Linked DNA regions of Homo sapiens: region 2 is linked to region 1. Evidence: promoter capture Hi-C in 16 types of primary human blood cells and fetal thymus (Javierre and others, 2016). All regions are on one chromosome and are shown on one strand. Each heading gives the region's core, a stretch centred on a gene start or on the middle of the fragment in contact. The rest is flanking DNA. Distances are from core to core; before and after follow the strand shown.

Region 1 (3,883 bases), core at 639-3,138:
TTTTCCCCATGTCTGTGTGGATTTTCTCCAGGTACTCCAGTTTCTTCCCACATCCTGAAGATGTGTATTTCAGGTGGGTGGGCATGTGTCAGCGATCTCAGTCAAGGTGAGTGTGGGTATATGTATGAGTGTGCCCTGTGTTGGGATGGTGTCATGGCCAGGGTTGCTTCCCACCTTGTATCCTGAACTGCTGAATGGGCTTTGGCCTCCTGTAACCTGAACTGGAGTAAGTGGGTTGGAAAATGAAAGAATAAATGAATACAAATTATTATAAGATAAAATATAAAGTATTTGATAATCATACAAATGCAAAATAATAAGAAATGTTGTATGAAAGTGCTTAGAGAGTCTGCCTTATTGAATATTGTTTGTTTTTGAACTGTGTGTTGGTAGGAGGTACTCCTGACAATTTTCACTTTACAAACATTTATTTCTTGATTTAACCTACCACCAGGATGACGGCTGTCACTCACTGATTCACCAAAAATTGGACAAATTGCTTACTTATTTTTGTTGATTTTTCTTAAATGTATGTATAGCTTACATTTATATCAATATTCAACATTAGAAGTGTTTCAAGTCTTCACTTAGAAATTTGTTGATGTTTTTGTGATACAAATATGCCATAGGAACTAATTCTTGTTTATATTAATTAGCCTATAGTAAAACTGGTTTTGTTACATGGCATCTCACTTGAAGTTGAAGTTTCCAAGACCCTATCAACAACGTTGAGAACTTACTGTCATAGGTTGAAAAACTGTACACCAGGAACCGGACCAAAATAGATCTGACAGTAATATTGATATTAGAAAACAACTTTAAGTCTAATAATGATTTTTCTCTAAAGAGGTTGATTACTTCATGATAGAAGGATCATGTCACCATGATGACACAGACTGTTAGTGCACATCAATATCCATTTTGTCCTCTTCTTTTTTGGCATACAACCAAAACTTACATAGGCTTTTTATCATTTTACTGGGCCTATGTAACTGAGTTTTAGCCAGTGGAATATGTCCAAGTGACATTTGCCACTTCTAGGTCTGGCACATTAACACTTGATGTATTACATTTCAGACCCTCTTATCATTCTGCAGTGTGTTTGGCGATCTGTTGTTTAAGATCTATATGCACTGGTTACTGTTGCTTGCCTTCCATTCCTACCCTTACTAATCAGATTCCTATTATAGCTACTTCTGTCCTTGATTCATTTTGTATATTAGATGTGTGTGTGTTCATGTGCATGCATGCACCCTCACATGTAGGTGTATATGGGAGTGGTGGTAAAGACAGGATATTTCTTCAGTTCATGGGATTTTATTTCAGGAGAATTCAAACATTCACGTATTGGAGAAGATGACACATTTCTTGAATGTCTTGGGCTTTGAGCTGAATGCACTAACTAGAAGGGACTTCAGATTGTCCTCCTTCGGGGGAGGTAAGTATATTCTTCATATACAGGTAAGAGTGAAATGATAGAAGAATGTTCCTCCTCTCCTTTTCTTCCTGGACAACAGATCAAATATTTCTCAGATCTTTTACAGCTGAATTGGAGTCACATGGACAGGTATGATCTTAAAATATAAAAAATTATTTTAAAATTACATGCTAAAATTTTATAAAAATAAATGCTAAAACTAACTTAAACGGAAGCATTTGATTAAAAAATTTATCCAAAAAAGTTTGAATTTTATATGAAACAGGATAGAAGATGAAAAAGCTAAAGAAATAAAATATAAATAAATTATGGCTGGGGACAGTGGCTCACACCTGTAATCCCAGCACTTTGGGAGGCTGAGGTGGGAGGACTGATTGAGGCTAGGAGTTTGAGACCTGTTATTTGAGGCACATGGGAAGGAAAGTTTTCTTTGAGATATTCCACATTTTATAATATTCTTCAAGAGATTTACAGAGTTCCTTGAGTGAATTGTTGGTTTGTTCTTAATACTGAATTTCCTATTCAAATTTATTTAGAAGTTCATTTCTTACAGTGATCTCATCTCCTATTAAGATATTCTTCAAGGTAGGTTCTTGGCCAGTTTCTCAATGACAGATTTTTAAAAATATTGTTAATCTTTTTATTAATATGAGAACATAATTGTTCCAGATCTGGAGGCCATCCTTTAAGCTTCTTGCAACAGTCTGGGAGCAAAGAGTTTACTCGCCACTGGGTAGTGGGCCATGGACACCCCAGTCTCCACCAGAAGTTCGGGATTGCAAAATGGGACTCTGGCAGCAAATTTCAAACTGTATGCCAGACCTGGCCCTTTGCAGGTGGGCATCACTAAAAATTTAAATTACCAAAATTGACTCAAGAGTAAATCTATGTCTGAGGAGAAAGCCTTTGGAAAAATTGAATTAGTAAGCAAAAACCTACCCAAAATAAATAACAGTAAGTCTAGAAAATTTTACACAGGGATTACCAACAAACATTCAAAGCACAGAAAAATCTCTTTAGCACAAAATGCTACAAAATACAGAAAAAGAGGAAAATTCTGTAGTTTCTCTCATGAAGTTAATATATTCTAGTTAGCTGAACTAGAAAAATAAGAGAAAGAAAAATTATAGGTTAATCTTCCTTATGAGTACATGCAAGTATCATAAGATGTTGACAAATTGAATCAAGCATTTTAAAAAATGCATTATGATCAAATATGATTTATCCTAGAAATAATGTATGAGAGTTATAAAATTCCCATTAACATTAGGAACAAGCATTAATACTTATTATCTCCACCAATAATCATCATTGCTCTGGAGTTCCTAACCAATGAAATAAGAAAGAAATAACCAGTTATATGGATTAGGGAAGATCAAATATTGATTATTTGAATATTTTTTTTTATAGAAAATCCAATAATTGTACAGCTGAAGAACTGGAATAGGAGAGTTAAGCAAAGTTTCTACATACAAGAGCAAAGTGGTCAAATCAATAGGTTATCTGTAGGCCAGTGCTAATTACATTGACATGGTGGCCTTAAAATTTTTACATGCAATTCATAAATCAGTTTCACTGATATTACTTTACCAGATATTGATATTCTAATGTTGTAATTATACAACTGTATTATTGTGTCAGAAATAAAATTAATAGACCAACAAAACAAAACTCAGAACAGATTCACATATTTGATAACTTGGTGTATGACAAGTGTGACATTAAAATTCAGGAGTAAAATAAAAAAATAACAAATAATGCCGGGATAATTGGTTAGTCACATGGGAAAAAGTCAGAAAGATCTCTGCCTCACTCTATTTACATGGAATATACTTCAGATGAAAGAAACTTAAATACAAAGAGCAAAACTTTAAGACTTTTAGAAAAAGATAGGAGAATTTATGACTTCCAGTAAGGAAAGCTTTCTTAAGCTAGATGCAATGGCATAAACGACAAAATGCATTTTTTTTATAACATTAAATAAAACATGTGTTCCGTAAAAGACACCAAAATACAATTAAGAGATAAGTTACAGTGTCTTAGTCCATTCTGGCTGTATAAAAAAATACCATAGACTGAGTGGCTTAAACAACATTTATTTCTCATAGTTTCTGGAGGCTGAGCAGTCCCAGTCAAAGAGAGCCCACTTTCTAGTTTATAGACCACCATCTTCTCACTATGTCCTCACATGGCAGAAAAACAAGATGGCTCTCTGGAGTACTTTTTACAAGAGCACTAATCCTATTTATGAGGGATTCACCCTCATGATATAATCACTTTCCAATGGCCTCAGATCCAAATACTATCACTTTGGAAGGCAGGATGGGGGTGGGAGGATTGGATTTCAACATAGGAGTTTTTTGGGGACACAAACATTCAGTCCATAGCACACAGACTGGGAGAAAATATCTGTGATGCATACATCTTACAAAATAATTCATATCT
Region 2 (3,883 bases), core at 485-2,984, 4.0 Mb before region 1:
TGAGGGGACATGTTCAGAGCTACCAGTATTGTCCAGAACATTGATGATGATAGTCTGAGCAAGGGCAGAGTCAGAGGAAAGGGAGAAGACAGGATGAATTCACAAACAGACTAAGCAATTTAAAGAAGGGGCTTAGGTGGGAACAAACATCAGAGCTTACTTCAGTTCTTTATTTTGTGTGAGTAGGGAGATGATGATGTTACTCACCCAAAAAGGGCCCAAGACATAGGCAGAAGAAAAATTTGCAGAAGAAAGAAAAGGTTGCTAGCTGAGCATGGTGGTGTACACCTATGGTCCCAGCTGCTCTGGAGGCTGGGGCGGAAGGATTGCTTGAGCCCAGGAGTTTAAAGGCTGCCATGAGCTATGATCATGCCACTGCACTCTAGCCTGGGTGAAGACAGAGCAAGACCCTGTCTCTACAATAAAAAGAAAGAAAAGTTTGGTTTTTGAAATGCTGATTCTGAGGTGACTGAGGCACATCTGAGTGGAAATGTTGAGCTTTCATTTGGAAAAAATAAAATGCTCAGACTCTTACAGACCAAAAAAAGGGAGGATAAATTGTGGAGTACTATCAGTGTATAGCAGTCTCAGTACAGGTCTGAATGAAAGCAAGAGAGATTAGCCGGGGTAAAAGGAGTGCTAAGTGAGGAAGCTTAGAGGCCTCTTACATTTTGGCAGCCAATCAAATGAAAGGAGAGACAAAAGTAGGAGGAAAACAACACCAAAGCAAGGCTTGGCGTCCAGAACAGCACAGTCACAGCAGGCACTTGAAACACTGCCATGGAGCAGTTTTTTTTTTTTTTTTTTTTTTTTTGACATGGAGTCTCACTCTGTCACCCAGGCTGGAGTGCAGTGGTGTGATCTTGGCTCACCGCAACCTCTGCCTCCTGGGTTCAAGTGATTCTCCTGCCTCAGCCTCCTAAGTAGCTAGGATTACAGGTGTGCGCCACCATAGCCAGCTAATTTTTGTGTTTTTAGTAGAGACAGGGTTTCACCATTTTGGCCAGGCTGGCCTCGAACTCCTGACCTCAGGTGATCCACCTGCCTCGGCCTCCCAGAGTGTTGAGATTACAGATGTGAGCCACTGCGCCTGGCCCAGAAGAGGCTTCTATACTTGCTCCTATAGAAGTCCTTGGAGACCTTTTGGAAAAGTCTAGTAGAAGAGTGGGAGTGGAGGCCAGATTATGGTGAATGAGAAGAAGGCACAGATGTGGAAATGTCTTCTTTCAAGAAATTTTCCAAAATGGCTAGAGACTGCAAAAAATGCAGGATGGAGGAAAAAGTCTCTCGAGAAGAAGAAACATTTGAAAATGTGCATCAAGATTAGAAATGGGTGCAATTAAGGGGAAGACATTGAAGATGGAAAAGCCTGGGGATAATGGTGGGGCAAACTCTTTAATGAGCTGTGAGGGATACATGAGGACTCTTTTTCCATTGCTCAGAATCATTTTGGCAGCTTATACTACTTTGGCTCTGAAATGCAACCATTTCTAAGCCAGGGTCCCGTGGAGGAAGTCTCTTCTGTGCTAACCATTCTGTGAGAGGAGAAATACCAGCAAGAGAGATGTAGATGCAACAAATGCATTGCAAATTGATTTACTGAATATACTCCACTCAACTGAAAATAAACACAATTTCAAAAATTATTAAGTGAGCTTAATTTGGGAAAATTAATGTTAAAATGATGGCTTTTGAGGCCTCATTTTTTTTTTGATTCTATGAAAATCACCAAAGATATATATCTGAAGTATAAACCAACCGTATTTTTATTTATTTCTTTGTTTTATAGATTAGTGGTGATGAAAACAAGCCACTTCTTATTTTCTTTAAAAGAATTGGGTTATTATGAGAAAATGTCTGTGAAAAAGTCCTGTAGAAATATTAATTTAGATTTCTACAGTTCTAAAAAACGTAATGGTATAGTAGCCTTAATTGACTCCAAATAATCTCATTTCTACAGATAATATATAGTCATGCACTGCATCATGACATCTTGGTCAACAATGGAACACATATACTTCCATAAGATTAAAATGGAGCTGAAACATTACTCTTGCCTAGTGCCATGCCATCATAGCCGTCATAATGTCATAGCACACTGCATTCATTACTCATGTATTTGTGGTGATGCTTGTGTAAACAAACCTGTGTGGCCAGTTATATAAAAGTATAGCACATATGATTTTGTATAGTACATAATACTTGATAATGGTAATGAATGATTATGCTACCGGTTGATGCATTTACTATAATGTATGTTAAATCATTATTTTAGAGTGTAATCTTACTTACAAAAAAATAATCTACAAAACAGCCTCAGGTAGGTCCTTCAGATGGTACGTGCACATCTTGTTTTATTGCACTTTGGTTTATTGCGCTTTGAAGACAATGCATTTTTTCCAAATTGAAGATTTGTGTCAACCCTGCATTGAGCAAGTCTATTGGTGCCATTTTTTCAATAGCATGTGTTCACTTTATGTCTCTGTTACATTTTGGTAGTTCTTGCAATATTTCAAACTTTTTCATTATTATTATAATATTCTTTATTTTTGATGTTAGTGTCATAATTGTTCTGGGTGCCACAAACTGCATCCACAGAAGACAGCAAACAATAAATGTTGTATGCGTTCTGACTGCTCCACTCACTGGCTGTTCCCCTATCTCTCTCCCTCTCCTCAGGCCTCCCTCTTCCCTGAGACACAATAATATTAAAATTAGGCCAATTAGTAACCCTACAATGGCTTCCAAATGTTCAAGTGAAGGGAAGACTCTCATTATCTCTTACTCTAAATCAAAGCTATAGATGATTAAGCTTAGTGAGGAAGGCATGTCAGAAGCTGAGATGGTCTGAAAGCTGGGTGGCCTAAGCCAAACAAACTGTGACTACAAAGGAAAATTCCGCCAGGCGCGGTGGCTCACGCCTGTAATCCCAGCACTTTGGGAGGCCGAGGCAGGTGGATCGCGAGGTCAGGAGATCGAGACCATCCTGGCTAACATGGTGAAACCCTGTCTCTACTAAAAATACAAAAAAATTAGCCGGGCGTGGTGGCGGGCGCCTGTAGTCCCAGCTACTCAGGAGGCTGAGGCAGGAGAATGGCGTGAACCCAGGAGGTGGAGCTTGCAGTGAGCCGAGATTGCGCCACTGCACTCTAGCCTGGGTGACTGATCAAGACTCCGTCTCAAAAACAGAAAAAAAAAAAAAAAAAAAAGAAAATTCCCTGCAGGAAATTAAAAGTGCTACTCCAGTGAACATGAATGATAAGAAAATGAAACAGCCCTGTTGCCGATATAAAGAAAGCTTTAGTGGTCTGGATAGAAGATCAGACCAACCACAGTATTCCCTTAAACCAAAGCCTAATCTAGAGCCAAGACCTAACTCTCTTCAATTTGTGAAGCTGAGAGAGGTGAAGAAGCTGCAAAAGAAAAGTGTGAAGCTAGCAGAAGTTGATTCATGAAGTTTAAGGAAAGTAGCCATCTCCAGAACATAAAAGTGCAAGGTGAAGCAGCAAGTGCTGATGGAGAAGCTGTAGCAAGTTATCCAGAAGATCTAGCTAAGATAATTGATAAAGGTGGCTACACTCAACAATAGATTTTCAATTTAGATGAAATAGCTTTCTATTGGAAGAAGGTGCCATCTAGGGCTTTCATGGCTAGAGAGAAGTCAATGCTGTTAAGAGCATTTGTGATTCATGAGAAGAGGTCAAAATATCAACATTAACAGGAGTTTGGAAGAAGTTGATTCTAACCCTCATAGATGACTTCAAGGGGTTCAAGACTTCAGTGGAGGAAATAGTTGCATATGTGATGAAAACAGGATGAGAACTAGAATACCTGAAGATGTCACTGAATTGCTGCAATCTCACGATAAAACTTGAACACCTGA

The links. The method cuts DNA at HindIII sites, captures the fragments that hold promoters and counts their contacts. A CHiCAGO score of 5 or more calls a contact.
Region 2: a contact is called between a fragment that was not itself captured here and the fragment with the promoter of LINC01949 in region 1, in 1 of 17 cell types (M0 macrophages). The highest score is 5.8, in M0 macrophages.

Annotation. Positions count from the first base shown.
Region 1 is chr5:87,237,206-87,241,088 of GRCh38, reverse strand. LINC01949 (long intergenic non-protein coding RNA 1949) reads left to right here and starts at 1,888. Exons shown (of 3, transcript NR_130914.1): 1 at 1,888-2,023; 2 at 2,108-2,274. All of the region lies in intron 2 of LOC101929380 (a long non-coding RNA gene), which reads right to left. The HindIII fragment of the contact is 4,009 bases long and covers 1-2,130 here.
Region 2 is chr5:91,208,050-91,211,932 of GRCh38, reverse strand. All of the region lies in intron 3 of LOC107986432 (a long non-coding RNA gene), which reads left to right. Among named protein-coding and RNA genes, the nearest start is that of LUCAT1, 100 kb to the left of the region's middle. The HindIII fragment of the contact is 2,160 bases long and covers 655-2,814 here.